Linked DNA regions of Homo sapiens: region 1 is linked to region 2. The links are contacts of gene promoters, found by promoter capture Hi-C in blood cells and fetal thymus (Javierre and others, 2016). All regions are on one chromosome and are shown on one strand. Each heading gives the region's core, a stretch centred on a gene start or on the middle of the fragment in contact. The rest is flanking DNA. Distances are from core to core; before and after follow the strand shown.

The links. Contacts are between HindIII fragments. The CHiCAGO score rates a contact against its expected background, and 5 or more counts as called.
Region 1: a contact is called between a fragment that was not itself captured here and the fragment with the promoter of STARD4-AS1 in region 2, in 2 of 17 cell types (total B cells and non-activated CD4 T cells). The highest score is 8.1, in total B cells.

Annotation. Positions count from the first base shown.
Region 1 is chr5:112,706,879-112,710,848 of GRCh38, forward strand. It overlaps a transcript of APC not described here. Among named protein-coding and RNA genes, the nearest start is that of APC, 29 kb to the right of the region's middle. RefSeq lists an enhancer at 600-659. The HindIII fragment of the contact is 810 bases long and covers 1,044-1,853 here.
Region 2 is chr5:111,510,250-111,514,732 of GRCh38, forward strand. It overlaps STARD4-AS1 (STARD4 antisense RNA 1), which reads left to right and starts at 1,977. Exons shown (of 7, transcript NR_040093.1): 1 at 1,977-2,259. STARD4 (StAR related lipid transfer domain containing 4) reads right to left here and starts at 2,286. Exons shown (of 6, transcript NM_139164.3): 1 at 2,136-2,286. RefSeq lists enhancers at 1,921-2,130, 2,611-2,750 and a silencer at 2,161-2,530. The HindIII fragment of the contact is 3,364 bases long and covers 801-4,164 here.

The sequences.
Region 1 (3,970 bases), core at 199-2,698, 1.2 Mb after region 2:
AATGTAAGTTCCGTGAGTTTATTGTATTTCCTATTGCTGTAAATCTAGAGCCTGAAACAGTATCTAGTATATATCGGAAACCCAAATGATATTGTTCAATTAATGTTGAATGAAATGAAACTGAAGAGGTAATCCAAGGTAAAGAACTTATCAAACTGTGTGAGACAAACAAGGATTTCCCGGAAGAGGTGTTTTTAAATTAAAACTACAGGGTGGTAGTGAGAGGTGGTAGGGAAGCAGAGGTCGCAGCTACAAAATAATAACTTGCTCATCTCCGTTTCTCCGCTATCTTATGAGCCCTTGTGGGGCTGGGACAGAATTTTATTCATCTTTCTATCATCAGCGTCTAGTACGGGGAGTAGCAAATAGTGAGCACTCGATAGATGTTTGCGGAATAATGGACTAGTGTGTGCAGAAGGATCTATTAACTGGGCTGCAGCACAATTCAGAGAAGGCCAGTAAGTGCTGCAACTGAGACTCGGCTGCCTAGGCAGCAATGGCTCACGGGACAGAACAGCGAAGCAGTGCCCGGCAAGCGGAGCGCAGCACCCATTGCGCCTGCGCATAACAGGCTCTAGTCTCCGGGCTGTGGGAAGCCAGCAACACCTCTCACGCATGCGCATTGTAGTCTTCCCACCTCCCACAAGATGGCGGAGGGCAAGTAGCAAGGGGGCGGGGTGTGGCCGCCGGAAGCCTAGCCGCTGCTCGGGGGGGACCTGCGGGCTCAGGCCCGGGAGCTGCGGACCGAGGTTGGCTCGATGCTGTTCCCAGGTACTGTTGTTGGCTGTTGGTGAGGAAGGTGAAGCACTCAGTTGCCTTCTCGGGCCTCGGCGCCCCCTATGTACGCCTCCCTGGGCTCGGGTCCGGTCGCCCCTTTGCCCGCTTCTGTACCACCCTCAGTTCTCGGGTCCTGGAGCACCGGCGGCAGCAGGAGCTGCGTCCGGCAGGAGACGAAGAGCCCGGGCGGCGCTCGTACTTCTGGCCACTGGGCGAGCGTCTGGCAGGTGAGTGAGGCTGCAGGCATTGACGTCTCCTCCCGGCAAAGCTTCCTCGGCTTTGCCCCGCCGCTGCTCGGGACCCTACGGTGCTCGGCCCGACTCTGTGGCTCTCTTCTCTCCATGTCTCACCCTCTCCCCTCCCCGCACTCCCCATTCAGGCCTCCAGTTGGCCCCTGGCTTTGCAGGTCCTCCATTCTCACGCAGTGGATGGGGGTCGCGACGCCCGCCGTCCTCCACCTTTCCTGGCTGCTGCTGGAGCTTCGCCCCTGCAAGTGGTGCCCCATTCGCGTTAGGTGGGTGGGTCGTCCGCCCTTCCCATTTTAGTCGCTTCCCCATCTTCCTCGTTTGGACCCTCTTGCTTCCTCTAAAAGTTTTAAACTCTCTGCCTGGGAAAATACCTGATAGCCCGGCATGTGGAGTTACAAAGAAAGGGCTGTTATCCAAAGGCCGGTGAATTTTGTTCACTTTGATGGGAGAATCAAGTCCCCAGGAGCCTTGGATGGTTAGGTCAGAGTCTGACTCCTTGACCCACCAAGTAGAGGAATGGTGCCTCTGTTGGCAAATGATTGTTCATCTAAATCATTCATTTTTTTCGGCTGTAGGAAATCTTTGGTCTCTGAACTGTTGAGGTGGGGGCGTGAGCTTTCTAGATCTAGTGAAAGAATTGGAAACTGTTATATTCGTTTTAAAAAAGAAGACCTTATGCAGTACATGTAAGACATCACTTAATGGTACAAGCAAGGATAAGTGATTTATTCTTTTATTCAGTGTTAGCTTAAATTGCCTACTGACGTCTTAGAATTCCATGTTGTACAAGCCCTTTGTTTCTATTTAGAAAGGACTAAAATGGAGAAAAGCTTTTTAAGTTCAAAACTTCTTAAATTGCTTGTATTCTCGATTGTTGTTACTGTTCAACCCTCCTTAGGAGTACTTGATATTTTCTATATGATTTAGTCTTGTGCCAGTCTCAGTACTCCCTCCTTTATTAGTGGAGCAAGGGTAGTCAGAATTACTGGTGTAAAAAACTGTCCTAAATAACGTAGTACCTTGCCAGAGTCTAAGTGCAAAATGTGGGATCAAAGCGGTAGTGGAGGAAGTTGCCATGGCTAATTTTTCCATCTTTCCCTGGATGGAAGGGTTGGATAACGTGTCAAGAGCCCCAAAATTGTAGAAGTGAGATTAAAAATATAAATGATAGCTTGCCCTTTGAAATTGCAAATGGGTGGACCTTTTTTATTAACATTAAATTGAGCAATATCGTTTTCTTGAAGTTATGCTAGATGTTCTCCAAAGTTGTTAAGCACAAACTATGCCTGCTGTATTAGAATTGTATGTTAAAAATTTTTAACGTGTGGGTTATAAATAGCCTGGCAGATTTGTTTACTTTTCATTCTGTCTCATAACACATAATCTATTTTTCCCTTTACTGTGGACTTTTGACCTTTTAATGCATTTTTAAAATTTAGAGATAGAATTGTTCAGCTTAAAAGAAGGAGGAATATTTTTATGTTTGCTTCTTGTATGGGCTAGTTCATTCGTTGCTAGCCTTCACTTTTCTGGAACCAGAGCCTGTGTGTTTTTAGAGCTGGTTGTCTCTGAATTCTCTGCATACAGTTTGAAGGGGCAGTAGCAAAGCAGGGGTTGCTGAGCCCCAATCAGTGGCTCACTGCTTCTGGCAAAATGATTTGTAGCTCTGTATCAAAAAACATCTGACCACAAACTCTTTAAAACCTCTCACTTTGGCAGGGTGTGGTGGCTCATGCCTGTAATTCCAGCACTTTGGGAGAGGCCAAAGCGCATGGATCGCATGAGTCCAGGAGTTCGAGACCAGCCTAGGCAACATGGCAAAGCCTCATCTGTACAAAAAAAAATACAAAAATAAGCCAGGCATGGTGGTGCATGCCTGTGATTCCAGCTACTTGGGAGGCTGAGGCAGGAGGATTGTTGGAGCCCGGGATGTGGAGGTTGCAGTGAGCCAAGATTGTGCCATTGCACTCCAGTCTGGGTGACAGTAAGACCCTGTCTCCTAACAAACAAACAAACCCTCTCACTCTTCCACTCTTATGGAATTTGGTATTTTTTCCTTTCTCTCTCTCTTTCTCTTTGTGAACCTTCTTTGTCTCCCTGTTCTTCCAACCCATTACCCTAATGCTGATTTCATTTGCCTCCCTGTGTAACCAGGATCCCATGATCATCAGCTTTTACTAAGCTCCTATTGATGGCCTAGAATGCTTCACTTTCTGTAGACTTACCTTTCTAGTCCCCAATCCTAAATAAGCCTCGCTAGCTTTACCAGTTTGACCCCTGAAATTCTGAGGGACATCAGAGACAGCTATGTGAGGATATTGGTCAGTTTTTATGCCAGTTGGTGCTCTCTGCTGGGTCTCTAGTGTTGTGTTCCTTTTCTTCTCATTTCCTCAGGTTTTTATAGCAAATAACTTAATCTCTTCCTTTGCTGAGAAAAATCTCAACCATCTGAGGTATATTTCCACTTCACTTTTTTCATCTCAGTGTCATCTCTTTATATATATATATCTCAGAGGAAGAAATGACCTTCTTTCTTTTCAAGAGCAACCCCCTCCCTCCAGATGTGTCCATGTACCCTTTCCCATCTTTCTTTCTCTAGAAACTGTCCATTTTCACTTCCTGTCCACCTTCTTCAGCCTCTCCCTCTCTAGCCTACATAGATGCTTGTATCTTCTGCCATATAAGTGTGTGTGCTGTTCAACTCTAGGAGGACGTTCTAAAGCTTGAGTCTGCTATGCCACTGTATTTCTATTCTTTTCTTTAAAGACTTATTCTTTCATCCCAGGAAGCTGTTATAGTAGGAAGAACATTGACTTTTGAGCAAGATAGAACTTTTGATCTGGGTTTTTGAAGTCTTTTAAAACCACTTTAGTAGCTGTGTAACTGTGGGTATGTTACTATTCAGATTTCATTCTGTATCTATAAAATATGTTATACTTAGCTCA
Region 2 (4,483 bases), core at 727-3,226:
ATATTAATATATTCTAGAACCAAGAGGGTTGGGGGAGATGGGTTATCAAGGTCTTGGCTCTCTCTCCTAATATAACAGGGTACTGACATTAATTGAGAGGAAAACACCTAATTTGCCCTCCTGCAATCTCCAACTGTGGAGAATGTCAGGTAAATGTTTTAAATGCCATTCTGAACCCATTCTGAACTTCCTTTTACTAATTCAGTCTTTTATTCCCTTATCTTGACCTTATATCAGGAAATTATCCAACTCTAACATTTACACGTCAGAGAGAACAGGCACCACTTAACCTTATCAGAATATAATAGGTTCATATAAAAGATTTTATACTCTTGTCAGTCCCATGGCCAAATGCTGAGTAATGTCCACCTCCATGTTTTTCCTTTAATCTTTTTGTTCATGTTTTCTATGCCCATGCTTTTGAAGCTATCACTAGTGGTGATAGTGGCTGCCATCATAGGGAGGGCAGCTGTCTCAAGTTACTTTTCTTGAGGCCATCTATCAGCACCATAGTCTTGACCAATCCAACTCCAATTATTCTCAAATATCTGTCACAGTGAGATGGCATAGGTTCTATTTTAAATATGGAACATAATAAAACATTTAACCTGTAATGTAAAGTGAATGCCATAAAAATCTGTTTGGACTTTTGTAGTACGACTAGGTCAGAATTCACTTGTTAAAGAAATGCAGGTATCAGAACGGTCTAACCTTGCATTACTTGATTAATATGGTTTTCACTTCCGTCAACAGCTTCAGTTTAACATGCCATGGACTTTCCCCAATGTCATACAAACCAAAGCTTTGTAAATTAAATTATATTTTCTAACTAACATAAAAATTTCAGCATATGCTTGATTTCCAATCAATGTTGAACTGTTAAGTTTTCTAACTCAGACAAGTACAGCAGCTTCTCATTTTTTGAGACTGGCTCTGGCAGGAGCTCACTATTTAAAGAAATGCAACATGGAAGTATATTTCTACAATATGAATAGTGAGCCAACTTACTGTTCAAACCCCTAATGCTCTAATACTTGATTAAAAAAAAAACCTAATGCTCTGTACTTGATTTTAAAAAATAACAATAACATTTATTGATCACTTACTACATGGTCAGTCCTTCTGGCTGCTTTACATTGCATTTATTTTATTTAATCCTCACAACAGTAATAGTCCTCCTTGAGAAAATGTGTTTCATTATGGTAAAGGAATTTTAGTTATTCAGAAGCTCTAGGATTGGTGTAAATGGGCATACTTTAGATATCTTGAGGTCTTCCATAAGTGAGAATAGTAGCTTAATGTCTATACATTTTCCCTGTTTTACAGAAAGGGAAAATAGCAACAGGAAGGTTGAGTCACTTGTCCAAGATCACACAGTTCATAAGTGATGGAGCCAGAATTCCAACCCAGGGCGTCTGACTTCAGAGCCTAAAGCTCTCTCTTGTAAAACTGTGGAAGCTGATCACAGGCTGGAAAAGACTTCATATAAAAAACCTGGGCCCACCAAATATTTGTCAAGTTTTGTCCTGGCTGCTGAACCTAAAAATCTAAGGTAATCTTTCTCAAGTGTAAATTCGGGAAAACAATGACACTGATTTGGTGAGAAATTATTTGAGTTAATACATTTAGCAGGGACCTTGGAAGGCAGTAAGCCCTGGGAAAACTTTGTCTCTTGTCTTTGGCATCACCTCCGCGAAGCCTGGTGGGACGCGGCTGCCCCTGCGCTGTCTGTGCACCTCCTAAGAACCAGGAAGCGCGGTGACCTCCAAAGAACAGGACTGTCCCAAATCAAGCGGGATTACCACCGCCCCTCTCCCATTTAACAGCTGAGGACACTGAGGTCTAATGGATTCCAAGTACTTAAATAGGTGAGCGGCGCGCAGGGGCGAGTTGCAAGCCCTGGGATCCTTCCAGCTCGCCGCTTCCCCTCCCAGGGGCTCAGGTTTCTCTTTCATCTGTGAGGTCCTCTCCCGCCCGGACGCCGGGGCCCGCCATCCCCAACGTCCACCGCGAGCTCCCCAGATCCATGGTCTGGAGCAGGTCCAGAAGACGCACCTGGCAGGACGCCCCGGGCGCCACAGTCGCCCTCCACACGGGCCACCCCAATCCTGCCGCGGCTCCGTGGCTCTCCTTACCTTTACCTGAGGTGAAGCAAGGACGTGGAAGCAGCTACGGCGCGCTACCAAGCACCTCACACCGCTCTCAACAGTACTGCTCAGCCTCCCGGCCCGCCGATGCGCAGGCGACAGCAGCCAACTTGTAAGTCACCGCTGGTCGCAGCCAACTGGAAGGCACCCAGCGCCTCAGGGCAAGGCGGGCCGAGCCCCCAGCCCCGCCCCCTGGCCCGATCCCGGGGGCTCCGGGGAGGGGGGGCTGAGAGGAGGTGGCCGGAACAACGTGCGCTTGTTCGGATTGGCTGGCGCGGGAGCGTGTGGAGGGCTGATTGGTGGCCGATAAATGGAATGATTCCGCGTGGGTGTGGGCTGGCCCGAGCCGCGCCAGGGTTCCCTGGATGTCTGGGGTTGCCTGCAGGTTTGGATTGGTTGGGTTGGGTTGTCCTGTGATCACTTAATTGTGAAAGAATTTTGTCAAGCAGTAAACCGACTGGGAGAAATTGAAACAGAAGGCGAAGTGAAGGATCACAGTGAGGGATAAGGTCCAAATTCATCCCGCTTGTGGATATCCTAGTATCTCGCAACTACGCTACTCCTCCCAGGACTAAAAGTCAAATAAGAAAAAGCGCCCATGCAGAGGAGGACGAGCTCTCTGCCTCCTGCTTAGCCTGACTCAGAACTGAGAGAGCTGGGAAGGAAAATGCATATAAACGAAAGTCCCTGCCACTATGTGAATTGACCTTTAGCCAAATACGTTTGTGTGTGTGTGGGTGTGGGTGTGTGTGGGTGCGTGTGTGTGTTTCCATCCTCAGATAAAGAGTTTAGAGGGCAACCTTAGAAGCAGAGAAAAGGAGGAGGTGTGACAAGTGGATTTAGCAACTGCACAGTTTTGGAGTTTCCATCTACTCGAACATGAGAAAGATTTCTTCCAGTGGCTGTGAAGTCACCCATCTGATGGGATGCTTGGCAAACAGTGAATTTCTTCCTTTACCAGAGTAGCCATGATGCACTGATTAGCGAGGCTTGGTTTGTCTGCAAATTGCGTTTACTAAGATACGTAGTTTGAGAACCAAAAGCAGGGAAGAATGCAGTGCTACACCATTAGTGATTTCTGATAGACTTGCAATGAAAATAAATAATATTTCGTAAATTTTTAAGTCGGCCTCACCAAAAGAATTACCAAATACTACTTGCTAGTTATTATTGGCCGATTTATTTTTTACCTCCATCGTTTATATGTAAAATAATTTGTTTTATATTTATATTTATAATTTCGTGTGACATAATAGAAGAGTTCTTCGTGTGTTGTAAAGCTCCTTTCACTTAGGAATTATTGGCCAATTATTGAGGTGCTTTGGATGGATGGATGAATACGTAGATAAATAATTTGAAATGGTTGGGGAAAAGTGCTTTGTAATTAAGTTGTACCTACTTAATTCAATTACATTGAATCCTCTTAACAGCCCCCTAAGGTAGGTGTGTTTTACAGGCGAGGAGCCCCAGACATAAATCTTAAGGCAGGTTGCTTAATTACTGAGTGGAGAAACTGGAATTTGGCTGAGGTCTGCTGGACTCTGAAACTGGGCTCTTAGTCTCCATAAAATTCAGATGGTGCTTGGTAGCTCTTTGTCAAGGCACCTGTGAAGACCACTGGGACCATAAATGAAAGGCCTAATTCCTACTGTGAGGGTTTACACAGGTTTAATGGTGGAGAGGAATAAATCCACGTATCTATTTCAAAAAAGTAAAAAAGTTGTATCTGTCATTATTAGGATTCAGTTCTGGATACTTTGCTCAACAGTCTATATATTCTCTTGCAGGATGGTGTAAAACATGTTTAAAACAAAATTAACTTGGCTTTTTTTTTTTGGACGGCGGGAGTCATTACATCACACTTATGCCCCCATGGGATTTCTTATCTTCCAGCCAGTTTCTGGGAGGTTTTTGTTTCTTTTGCTTTTGTTCTTCATCTGTTGCCATTTTTCTTGGTTAGAATGAAGTTTGGGTAATTGGAAGCCACTCTATCAAAGTGGAATGCTACTAACAGCAAAGCTTCAGATTCAGAAATACATATACAAATACATCATCTGGAGCTATTTTTGAGGGTTTAGTATGGTCCAAACACAGTGCTAAGCATTTTACATTTTACAGCAATGCCTGAAAATAGGCATGTACTATTACTATTTTCATTATACACATGAGAGAACTGTAGTATGTAACACAACAGATAGATCTCCCCTACAAATAGTTTGAAAATGGGAAAATAAGGTCTCCATCTAGAATTCAAATATAAAAGAGGCATATAATGAATTTGATCAGCTAAATGGAAACTTAACCTAAAGAGACAAAACAACTGCCCTGCCAAGTCC